3 separate regions of the Homo sapiens genome follow, and regions 1 and 3 are each linked to region 2. The links are contacts of gene promoters, found by promoter capture Hi-C in blood cells and fetal thymus (Javierre and others, 2016). All regions are on one chromosome and are shown on one strand. Each heading gives the region's core, a stretch centred on a gene start or on the middle of the fragment in contact. The rest is flanking DNA. Distances are from core to core; before and after follow the strand shown. Region 1 has its middle 58 kb from the start of CTSC. Region 2 holds the start of GRM5-AS1 (GRM5 antisense RNA 1). Region 3 has its middle 72 kb from the start of MIR3166.

Region 1 (4,143 bases), core at 1,401-3,900, 230 kb after region 2:
AAGTTGAGTGACAGTTGTGAACAATCTAGCTTTCTATTTGAATAATATGCAAAATCCCTATATAAGTTGTTTAGTGTGGAATCTCAGATATGGGGGATGTAAACTCAAAACAGTTGTATTAGTTTTCAGTAACCACTATCAATTGTTCTTTGAACATTATCTATTTGGAAGGCTGTATCCCTTGAAGATATTTCAGTTCCACTCTATAACTTTCCAGACATTTTCACATATTAGAAGTTTCATGGCAGTTCTGAGAAACTCAGACCTATTTATTGTAATATTTCAATCTCCAAGGGCTTCTGCTAGCTCACAGAGTGCCAATATGGGAATGGGAAAATGATGCCCCTTCCTCCTGGTGGAGACAGGGACCTGCACAATCAGTTCAGACCACTAATTCCTCCCCAGACCGTGTGAAATTCTAGCCGCCTGGAATTTAGAGATTGTGTGGCCTGCTTTAACAAACTTCCTCTTCGTTTTTCTAATCTGGCCATGGAATAGGTGTAAATAAGAGTGAAAATGGTATTTTCTAGTCAGTTGTAACATGACTGGTTATCAAATATTTCAAATATTGCCCCAAATACTACCCCCAGAAGGTGGTGCTGTGAGTTCTGAAATGTTTGTTTGGGAGCTGTCTCTCCAGAAGCAGACCTGGATGGACCAAGTACAAACTAGAGGTCAGTTATTTGTGTTTATTTCAATCTGTGCTGTCCATGACTTCAAAGCACAAGTCACTGGATTCTCTAAAAATACTTCCCATCCTCAAATTCTTTTTAACTGGATCAATTTTTGAGGCTTGGGAGACAGTTGAAAGTTGTTATTCTGACAGCTCCATTCAAAAATGAGATGTAAAAAATGACCTTTTTATAGGAACATACGGGAAAGAACTATAAAAACGCTTAAGATTTGGTTTGGCAGAGATATTTTTCTCATTCAAAAATGAGTAGCGTTTTTGGCACTTGCTGTGGTACTTTGTAGCTGGCAGCTGAATTATTTTGGCCTCTGCCCAAATCTCTGGACTCAAAAGCTGATCTTCAAATCTCCTGTTTAGTTAAAGAAGGATTTAAAACACTTAATGGCCATTTACATGTCAAAAATAAGACATTATATTAACCTGATATTGAGACACTGTGCCTGTCTAAATAGCGATGACAATAGATAAAATAACTACCTTTTGAATGGCAGTGCATTACTTGTATTATTCTTCAAAACAATCTGTCAATAGAACAGGTTTTAAAAGCCCATTTTACAGATAGGAAAACTGAGGTTCAGTAGACCAAGATCCTTGCTCAGGGTATTTGGAAGAATCAGTATTCGAGCCCATGGCTACAGACATTTACCTATTCTCTATTATGTCACGTTATTTTCAATGTATATTTTCTGAAATGCAATGCAGTAGGCCTTGAGTTAGTAATTCTTCCTTTAAATGTACCTGCAAATTATACAACACTCTTAGCCAATAATGACTTAGAGAATTATTTCTGCTTTCTTTAGCATTAGTACTTTTATATTCTTCTTAAAGGTAATTATTCTACCTATGACTGGGCTATTATGAAACAGGGTGGTCTTGGTAGTTTACAAATATGTCCATAAGTAGATGTATCATGGTGCCCTAAATTAGCTTTACTCATGTTCTTTTCTTTCTAGAAAATTTTTGTTAACCAGGATCCCATGCCTCTGTAAATTGACCATCCCCTAACCCATAGCTTCATATCATTTAGTGTTCTGGGACCTCCAAATGAAGTCTTTATTATTAGACAAGGAGGCATGGTCTGTCTGATATATGTTGAAAGCCAATAACATAACTCACTGTCTTTCAATTTGATAATAATTCTGTCTTAATTCAGTCTTATACATATTGCTTCCTATTATCTTCCATTCTTTTTCTTGGAGAAAGTAAAATGGAAGAGCCAAATGAAACACAGTGTTCTAAATCTACCCATATGAAGTAATCTACCACTTCAGATGTAAGTTGGTATAGAATAAAAGGAAGTCACAGTTCAATTTATGGATTCCAGGGAAATACAGTAGTATGATCCAGGAAGTATAGATATTTAAAGGAGGCATCTTCTAAGTTGATGGAACATAGCTGCTGAAGTTTCTGGGGCACAAATAGGGACAGTAACATGATTCTAAATTTTGGCTAAAGATTCCCAGTGAGTTAGTGCCTGGGTGAGGTAGGTGGGCATAGTGTATCATGATCCAGCAAAGTAATAGCTGAGCATGGTATCTAGACCCAGGAAAATGAGGCAGGGGTCGATGGGGGAACTAGAATACAAACTAGGAGGATATTCAAGGTTCTGGGAAGGAAGAAAGTCTGCAACTTTGCATCTGGGTTTATTTCCATATACAATGAATTTTAATAATAAATGCTGGTGAGGATGTAATCAGTGGGGAGAAGGAATTTGTACAGAGAAATATTATGATCAGATCTTTGCTTTTGTAATGTTGTTATCTGTTGGTAAGGAAATCATAAGAGGAAGAGCAAGATTGGCAACAGTGAGATCAGTTAGGAAGCTATTGGTATCTTCAAAGCACTGTCCAAGTCTCACCTTCATCCTCGTCAGACTTTCTCACCCAAATTTCTGTAGGATAAACTACCCTTGCCAAATCATTTAACATTTATTTTCTGTTTCTGTATCATACCTTTCTAATGACATTATAAACTATGATGAATTTAATTTTATTTTAGTTGTTTCATTGCATTAGGTTCATAATAAACACACAGAAAAATACATGAGTGCTTTTCAATGAAAAGTAGAAAGTAGGAGCAAATAAAGCATCGCATAAGTAGAGAAAGGAAGGCATAACATATTATGTACAGGGATATAGATATGTCAAAAAGGGGAAAGCTAACTGATTCCTACAGCAAAGTATTAGATGGGTGACTTTTTTTTTTAATGTGTATATATATTTTTTTTTTTACTATTTTTTTTCTAACTTTTAAGTGCAGGGGTACATGTGCAGGTTTGTTACGTGGGTAAACTTGTATCATGGGGTTTGTTGTACAGATTATTTCATCACCCAGGTATTAAGCCTAGTACCTATTAGTTATTTTTTCCCGATCCTCTTCCCTCCGCCTTCCATTAGACCCCAGAAAGTGTTGTTCCCCTCTATGTGTCCATGTGTTCTCATCATTTATCTTCCACTTATAAGCAAGACCATGCAATATTTGGTTTTCTGTTCCTGCATTGGTTTGCTAAGGATAATGGCCTCCAGCTTCATCCATCCCCCTCAAAGGACATGATCTCATTCTTTTTTATAGCTGCATAGTATTCCATGGTGCATATGGACCACATTTACTTTATCTATTTTATCACTGATGGGAATTGAGGTTGATTCCATGTCTTTGATGTTGTGAATAGTGCTGCAGTGAACATATGTATGCATGTGTCTTTATAATAGAACAATTTGTATTCCTTTGGGTATATACCCATTAATGAGATTATTTATATAAATTTAAAGGGTACAACTGCAATTTCGTTACATGGATATATTGCACAGTGGTGAAGTCTGGGATTTTACTGTATCCGTGACCCAAATTATGTACATTGTACCCATTACCCATTAAGTAAATTCTCTCTCTTTCTCTCTCTCTCTCTCTTTCTCTCTGTCTTTCTCTGAGCCAGGGTCTCAGTGTCACACAGGCTAGAATGCAATGGCATGAACATCTCTGCAGCCTCGAGCTCCTGGGCTCAAATGATCCTCCCATCTCAGCCTCCTGAGTAGATGGGACTACAGGCCCATGCTATCACACCTGGCTAATTTTTGTATTTTTTGTTGAGGCAATGTCTCACTATGTTGCCCAGGCTGGTTTTGAACTCCTGGCCTTAAGCAATCCTCCACCTTGGCCTCCCAAAGTGCTGGGACTACAGGGGTGGGCTGCCGTACCCAGCCTGGATTTGTTTTCCTTTGGGTAGATAGCTAGTAGTGGAATTGCTGGATTAAATGATACTTCTATTAGAAAATAACAGGCTCGCTCTTATTGTTTCGAATGTATTACTTATAGATGCAGGCTCTGAGGCTTTGAAGAAATCCAGAACATAAAATTAAATTACTAAATAATACAAGGAATCAAAGAGAACATGAGTTATTTAAAAGTGTTCAAAAGAATATCCATGTTGTCAGGAGCTGAATTTATTTAAA
Region 2 (4,171 bases), core at 1,588-4,087:
TATGCCAGTGAGCAGTGATTTTAACTATTCTTGGCTGCTTAAACAGGGCAGCTATGAACTATGACAAATGTAGATTTTTCAAAGCAATACAAAATACTAAAAAAGAGGAACCTTAATGAATATTAACCACACAGTCTTTCTTAGCCATTCCAAAAAGAGGCAAAGCAATTCTTATTTTCTTTTTTAAAATAATGATTAATATGATTTTGTGCACTTCATACTGTCACTTTTTAAAACTACAGAAAAGAGATTTAGAGTATAACAGAAACAAGTGTGCTTTGATAGTCTCAAATAGGTAGAATTCATAGTTCAAGACCTGAATCCACTGTCATCTCTTTCTTCCTCCCATTGCAGCTATCCTCAGGTACCAAATGTTTTGATTTTTAAATAAGGATAGTAATAAATGGAGGAGGTGTCCTATAAATTTAAAGTTCAGTTGACCCAGCCTTATACTTAAGATAGCCTTATGAAAAATATGTGCTGTGAGGCAGAAGTATATTTTGGCAGAGAGAATAATAAATAAAACTTTTTCTTTTAGCTCAATATCCTTACTTTGGTAAGTATTTTTTTTTATTTCACATCTACTTAACAGAAAATAAACTGAGAAATAGAAGTCAGTCCATTGGCATAATTTATCATTCTTCACTTTAAAAAATTCTAATAAATATTCTGCTTGAGTTTTCTTTTCTGCTATTTGTTCTTACTTGCAACTTTAAGTCAAACCTCCCAATACAAAACATTAAAAGCTAACATTAATGTACTAAAGTATTAATTTAAAAGAAATCGAACCTCCCATGCTAGATTTGAAAATAACATCATCACAGCACCCTGATCCCAAATATTACACCGAGGCTTTTAAAATGTAAGTGAAATCTAGCTAAGTTTCATGGTTTCATTAAAAGCAAATGTCTGCCTCTATCTGAAAAACAAATGGAAATCTTTTGAGGTGTTAATACCCTTTGGATCCTCATCAAAAGGATGGCATTCACCTGAGGATTCCTATCTTGACTTCTTAGGTATTAAAAACCTTTCTTGATATGCTCTACATTTTAAAATTTGTTTTATAAAATCCTTATGTTGATTTTCATTTTATTCTCAAGTACAATACGTTTCACTCTAGACCAGTTGAAGAACATGTTTAAACTTTGTTCATGGTCAAATTCATTTTCTATTTTTTTAGTAACATATCTCTTAAAAAGCACACTACCTTATAAAAAACTTCATCAGAAATTAAATTTAATGCAAGTAAATTGCCATCTGATACTTCCACATGCTATCATAATCAACTGTAATAATAAAAATGATTTATCCAATTAGAAAAGGACAAGATATATTTTTCTCTGTATTTCTATAACTTTTGCCACTCCATTGAATACATTGTATGTTGGACATAAGATTATTAGTAATGCATTCTTGAGATCTTTTATTTTGGAATGATGCTAACTCTGTCTCTTTGCCAATTCTAATACCAGGTTCCAAGTAATAACTCTACAGTACAAAGAGAACTGAATATTCATTCTAGGGCTATAGGATATGAACTTCACAATTCATTTGGGTACATTCTCATTGAATTTCCTTCAAAACAATCTGTTCCTGGTGCCCAGTGATAATTCAGTCGGGACCAGCATGACTAAAAGGAAGGGGATATGCTAAGGCTCAGCAAAGTGACCCTAAATGAGAGATATGTCCCAGGATGGAAAGAAGAAGACGTGGTTTAACCAAGTTATACTGACTAATCTAAGCAGTCCACTCATCCTTCCATTTTGGGAAAGGAGTGGGGGCAGCCTAAGAAGAACATATCTGGATTGGGAAGAACCGTCTTTCTGGGCTAGGGATGGGGAACAGAAAGGGAGTATGGAAAGAAAAATTATAAGAGATTTGACTGAAGCAAGGAAAAAAAGCAAATCCCCAAACGTGCTAATCCTTGAAAGTAACTATCTTTCCCAAACTACTGCTGTTACCAGCAAGTGATCAGGAAGACTAGGAGCTATTTCTGACTGTAAATGAATTGTATAATAGCTCTGCTGCAGTTCTGTGACTTCCAAGCCAGGAATTAAATGCTCTTTTTAAGAATAACAAAAAACAAAAGCATTTCCTATGCTAGTCTCCCAGTAAAATGTACATGTTTTGGAGACTTCAAAGGTATTATGTGAGTTCACATTTAGCAACAGCTTATTAATAACCCTCAAGCTGTCAGAATCTCTATAGTTACCATTTACAATTTTATACTGTGAAAAAATACAGATCAGTGAAAGCATAAAGACAAGTCAGAATTCACTTTGAAGAGGGTCTGAGGCCTGGGAGAGTCTCTACTGTCTATTGAAGAATGAGGCATGTATAAAATAGTTGGTTGAATTTCACTGATCTTCCCAATGTGAACAAATATACTATGTATATTGTGTGTATTTCTAGAAATCAATGGCAGCTGCTGATGGTGTTGTAATTAGAAATCTATATAGATTATAGATGTTTTAGAAAGATGGTGCCAATCCTAAAAGATTTGTGTGGGCTAAAAGTGCTTGTACTTACTTTTTTCTGCACTTATAACTGATTTGGTTTTAAAATTGTGTGCGTGTATCTGTTCTTTCTCTGTTGTGGCAGCTTGTACTATTAAAATAATAGAGAATGTTAAATTATTTTGATGTGAACTGCAAATGATTTTTTTTCATAAAGTTTAACATTTTTATCAGCATTGTTTTGCTTTGTACTTGTATAAATATGTTTTATTTTAGCACTTCAAAATATACTTGCCTGTTTCTCAGTTGTCTAAATCATGTTGTACTTGGTGTTTGTGAAGCCAGTTACTTTTCAAAAAAATTAAAAAACCTATAATATGATTTTAAGATTATTCCCCTCAAATGTTTAGAATGTTGTCTTAATAGTGTTTTCTGAGATGAAAAGAGCCATGATACTAATTAATCTTGAATACTGGATGATCTATACATTTGAATTATGGGGTTTACAAAGTAAGCAGTGGACTGTATAGATTTAAATGAAAATATAAACCAACCACAAACCAACCAGAGATGTTGTCCCCAAACACATCTACAAACAACTGTTACATAAAGAAGTACTTAAAAAAATATATAGGAAATATGCATTGTTTATGCATCTAGACATACAAATTATAGAAATAGTTTCATAATTATATGTGTTGATAGAGGTAACATCACACAGATAAAATAGATTATTTGTGTGTGTATAGATGTGTGTTTACAAACATACATATTTATATAGACATTTGACTTTTGAGTCCATCTGCATGTGTCTCTGTGTATATGTGTGTTTGTGTGTAGATGTATGTGCATATTACATAATTTTTCCAGAAAAAAAAAAAGTTTTACTTTGACTGATTCTTGAGCAAATATACATTCCCTGGACACAAATTAGTGAAAAACTAACAGCAGAATATAAGGTAGATGCTTGATGTATGGAAGAGAAAAACAAGGTATATTTAAAAATATATTTGATTTATGCTTCTGACATTGTATTAAATGCATAATGATATATATACATATGTAGATACATATATTATACAGAATGTGTTTGATCTTAACAAAGAAAGCCATTTTATCTGTTTTGTCAGACTCTTCCCTTCAGTATCTTTTATTCTAACGTGATATGAATGGTAATATGTTCACATAAAATTGAGGATGAAGTGACATATACAAACCAGGTACAGGAAATTACCTTCTAAAAATCCAAAGAGCCTTATCAGACTCCATCAAATTATGGAAGGCCATTTAAAACCAGCGGATGCAATAGAAATAGCATTGAATTAAAAGCCAGGATCTCTTACCTGTCACCAACTGACTTTGGATAAATCACTCTGATTTCTCTACAACTTGTTCCTCTTGCTTTAAATGCAGAAGTGAGTTACAATAATCTGTGAAGTTTCTATCATTTCAACATTCCTGATAAATGCTCAATAGTAGCTATTATTAGTGTCAATGTAGTATTTAGTATACAGTTAATATTCAGCAGGAAGCTTAAATTTGTTATATCAATGTTATTTGTGGAGCTTAACAAGTTCCTGTCCAACTTAAAGCATATATCCTGGAGGAAACCTATTGAGGTTTGAACTCATATGCAACCTTGGAACTGTCTATCAAGGACAACTTAGTAAATTGATATTGAACACCACAGAGAGAATGCTTTTCCTCTGTTATAA
Region 3 (4,474 bases), core at 1,022-3,521, 260 kb after region 2:
ATTAAAACTAGCTCAAATAGTGAAGAAAATATCCCAGGCGAAAATGGGTCATGTAGAAGAGGAAGATTTTTTTTTAAAGCATTCTGGGAATATTACCAAGCCTTCTTTGGGAAAACTAGAGGATGTTTGATGATCTTATTGTCAACAACTGCCTGAGAGAAGCACAGACAATTGAGAGATAGGCTGGATTACACAGATGAGTAGCCAAGTAAGTCAGAGCATATCCCTCCTCTTCCTGGGGTTTCCAAGTACCTACCAGGACTCCAGGAGGCTTCATGCTAAGTAGGCTTGGAGGTGGCACATTTATTTAGGCATACTCATTAAATTCATCGTTCCAGGAATTATATAAAGTTAGATCTGGAAGTTCCTGGAAGGTTATTTTATGGATCTCATATGTAATATGTTATAAAATTATCATTATTTATTCAATTTCTGCTGTGCTTTTAGGTATTATTCTTATATTCACAACCCAAATCTGGTATTTTGCATTTTTCAGATAAAGTATTTAAGGCTCGAAAGTTTTAAGTGCTTTCCAAATGTCGTAGAATTAGTACGTACTAGAACCAGAATCTGAACTTCTATCTGATTCTGAATCCCAGACAGCTTTCTATACCATAGGGCTTCTCTGTATTAGTCAAAATAATTTAATATTTTGGCAAATAGTTTGTTAACATAAATAATTGAAGACCCACAACTTGAGTTTAAGCCCTTTCCCATTTTTCTAAATTCTCCTAGTCCCAGTTTATTTATTTATAGAATCAGAATAGTGCTTCTCAAAAATTGGTTTATATGAGATAAACTATGTAAAAAGATTTTGGTTGTGGGATATGCATAATAATTCCATTTCAGATCCTATTCTCACTTACATTTTACCATGACCTTATTTTAGACAGTTTGAGTGACGAATTCTTGATATCTCTTTGGAGGCTTATTGGGCTTGGTAACATAAAGCCTCACTGAAGGATAAGACATGATGTAATTGATCTTTGTGCTCTACAGAAATATAAGCTTCCTTTATTTATTCTAATTCCCAAGGAAACAACTGCTGGAGATATGTTTCTGCAGTATGAAAATTGTGAAATTTCAAAGAGATCATGATAAGCCAGAAGTAAGAAAGCTGCAATAGTTTAGAGTATGCTTCCCAAAAGTTTCTAGAAAGTGTCCTTAAAGGCACAGCAAAATGAATTTGTGTCTCCATGTGGTTTGAATGCCCTACATCTACCATGACATTTATTGAAAGATATAATTTATCGGTCGGGCGCAGTGGCTCATGCCTATAATCCCAGCACCTTGGGAGGCTGAGGCAGGCAGATCACCTGAGGTCAGGAGTTCGAGACCAGCCTGGCCAACATGGTGAAACCCTGTCTCTACTAAAAATACAAAAATTAGCCGGGCATGGTAATCCCAGTTACTCGGGAGGCTGAGGCAGGAGAATCGCTTGAACCCAGGAGGCAGAGGTTGCAATGAGCTGAGATCACACTATTGTACTCCAGCCTGTGAGACCGAGGAAGACTCCGGCTCAAAAAAAAAAATAGTGCAGTTCTGTACTCTGCAGTATATATGCTTTTTAGATTTAAAATCACTAAATCATGTGTTGACCCCCTTCACAATCTTTCATGTCATCCAATCATGCCATGTTCCAAAAATGTGCCGTCTTTATCCTGTGGCTCCTGGTGCCTCACTGGAACATCCCTAAGAAGTCCTAGAGAGGTACAATATTCTAGTGTAAGATGTATCTGTTTAGAAAGTATTTCATCCAAGCTAAAAATAAGCCAAAAATGATTTTTGCCTCTAGTAATTATTTCTGAGGCGATTGTCATGAAAATAGTTGCTTTTTGGCACTAGATCTAACATTCTGATAGTAATCCTTGGAGGTCAATTATTCCTGGATGAGAATGACAGGCAAGAGGAAACAGTTTGGGGTCACTATTTATATACTAGAATATTAAACCTTAAGTACCTCAGTTAACTTATTGTTCAAATGGAAGCAAGATTTAATGAAAAATAATAAGACGTCATAGTCCATAGTCTTTCAGTTTTATAGCTGATTTTATCTCTAGGTTTACTTTCAAAGCAGGTGTCATGGTCCATTTCTCAGACCCCTCCATTCAGGCCTGAGACCCTCAGTCCCCTAGTTTCCCCAGCTGTAGCAAATGTTGACTGCCTCACAGCTGAATCCCTCTCCAGGAATTGGTTATGGCTGTCAGCTGAATCCCTCTCCAGGCATTTCCTTCTAAGGGCACCACCTGGTCCAAGGTTAGCCCAGGATCTTATGCCACAATCCAGACCATCCCCGAAGTGCCACCCCAGTTCCAGAGCTCCCAAGCAGATTGGTTCTGTTGTTACTGTGTTACAAGTCAGTTTTTCCTTTTATTCAGTCCTACTTCCTTCATCCCTTTTCAGGTACTGTTCCTGCAAACAAATATCTACCCTAGAGTCTATTTACTGAGAAAGCTAGTTTACGAGAGCTTCCCATACTAGCAAGCTAGCTGCCTTTAATTCTCCCTACCCAGTGGTTTCTTTAGACACCATCTTTAAATTGAAATGTGAGAATAAAATAGAAACTATGTGAATCTGAAACATCATTGGCATGTGATAGGTAAGGATAGTCAGCAAAGTGATTATTTCCAATTCCACTAGTTTTAGTGAGAGCACTTATGCTTCAGGCACTAAACTGAATTTACTCGGTCTTGCTGATTTTCACAACAAACATATGGCATAAGTATTAGTATACTTGTTTAGGAAATAAACTGAGATTTATTTACTTGCTTAAAGTCATAGGGTTAGTACATTGTGAAATTAGAATTTGAACCCACGTCCTCCTTCTCCAAGTCTAGCAGTTTCTAATCTATCTGTGAACCATTGTGCAGTTTACAGTATTTTCAACTCTCTGCCTTCTGAGCACATGGTAGAATTGTACTTCACTACCGTTGTAATGTTAAATATGGCCATACAGCTTGCTTTGGTTAATGAAATGTGAACAAAAAAGCTGGTGCCTTTTTGCTTTATTTCCCTCCCCTGCCACAGGGAGTGGTGATGTTCTAAATGATAGTGGCTCAAAACTTTGTGTCCCTGAATGGAGACAGCATGGTACAGGATTCCCAGCACAACTCAAGGTAGTCACGGAGCATCAGGGAAAAATAATCTTAGTTGTGTTAAGTGACTACTGCCCATGAATTGTTTGTTATCACAATATAGCATAAATTGATGGATACATAAATTTCAACTAAAGAACAGATTAATTTTTTAACCCAAGATGTACTCATGGAGAATTGCCATTTTTTTTTTTGCTAGAATTGTAATGTCCTTAACATCAGAATTTGTTTTATAATGTAATGTAATTGAAAGAGTTTGGATTTTGCAACTACATAGACTTAATTTAATTTGAATTTCTGATCTAACATAATTGATTAATGACCTTGGGTTTTCATTTCCCTTTCTCAGCCCTCTTTAGTCATCTATAAAATGAGGCTAATAATATTTTCATTATAGCATTGATGTGATAGTTTCATAAAATAAAGTCTGTAAAGCTTTTAGCAAATTGCCTGACACTATTAATATCTATTAATAGTAACAAATAAGTGTTTTATAGAATGCAGTCTTCTCACCTTTGCATCTGAAAGTTATTGTTAAAAATATAGATTCCCAAGGCCCATTCCAGACCTATTGAATTAGAATCTCCAGGTATGAACTACATTTTGAACAAACTCCTTCGGTAATTCTTCACTGAGATAGAAAAATTATTGCACTAAACAAATGTTAAATACTTCTATATACACATATATAAATGGTTTCGACTGCCAAAAAGCCTTCCACAAAGTTCTTGAAATGATCTTAGAACTAAATAGGAAAGTATCACCCAGTGCACTATAGATGCATCAAAGTAAACTCAGCAGAGGATTTGGGGGACTACAAGGCATACTTCAAAGGGATAGCATCTTAAAAAAAAAAAAAAACTTGGTGAATTCTTTGTCTCTAAGTATCATGAGAAACACAGTCTGATGAGGGTAATCTTAGCTGATGACGAAGGAGGGTGTGGGACTTGAAGGCTGGCTGAAGTGAATCAGATGCCTATGAAATGAGGATGACTGCCAGTGAAAATCAGCCAAGGACACTTTGATCAGCGACTCATGCAAGTGAGCAATTATAACTCCGGAAATTCTGGAAATTTTCTGGTGGAATTCTAGCCCAGAAATTTTAGTTCCATTGTTTTAGGAAAAGAGGTGGTTTTGATTCCTGCTAGAGTTTTTGGTAGCAGTGAGTGACTTTGGAACTGAATATTATTATCCAAACCCCCTTCTCTCTAGGTCACTTTTCTTTTTTCTTTTTATTATTATTATTATAGTTTAAGTTCTAGGGTACATGTGCACAACGTGCGGGTTTGTTACATAGGTATACATGTGCCATGTTGGTGTGCTGCACCCATTAACTTGTCATTTACATTAGGTATATCTCCTAATGCTATCCTTCCCCC

Evidence for each region. Contacts are between HindIII fragments. The CHiCAGO score rates a contact against its expected background, and 5 or more counts as called.
Region 1: a fragment that was not itself captured here is called in contact with the fragment with the promoter of GRM5-AS1 in region 2 in 1 of 17 cell types (neutrophils); the score reaches 6.0 in neutrophils.
Region 3: a fragment that was not itself captured here is called in contact with the fragment with the promoter of GRM5-AS1 in region 2 in 3 of 17 cell types (neutrophils, activated CD4 T cells and M2 macrophages); the score reaches 7.0 in neutrophils.

The regions. Positions count from the first base shown.
Region 1 is chr11:88,277,975-88,282,117 of GRCh38, reverse strand. No RefSeq gene overlaps it. Among named protein-coding and RNA genes, the nearest start is that of CTSC, 58 kb to the left of the region's middle. The HindIII fragment of the contact is 10,000 bases long and covers 1-4,143 here.
Region 2 is chr11:88,503,242-88,507,412 of GRCh38, reverse strand. It overlaps GRM5-AS1 (GRM5 antisense RNA 1), which reads right to left and starts at 2,837. Exons shown (of 6, transcript NR_049724.1): 1 at 1-2,837. It overlaps GRM5 (glutamate metabotropic receptor 5), which reads left to right. Exons shown (of 10, transcript NM_001143831.3): 10 at 1-2,771. The HindIII fragment of the contact is 8,959 bases long and covers 1-3,990 here.
Region 3 is chr11:88,246,472-88,250,945 of GRCh38, reverse strand. No RefSeq gene overlaps it. Among named protein-coding and RNA genes, the nearest start is that of MIR3166, 72 kb to the right of the region's middle. RefSeq lists an enhancer at 3,459-4,474. The HindIII fragment of the contact is 2,522 bases long and covers 1,011-3,532 here.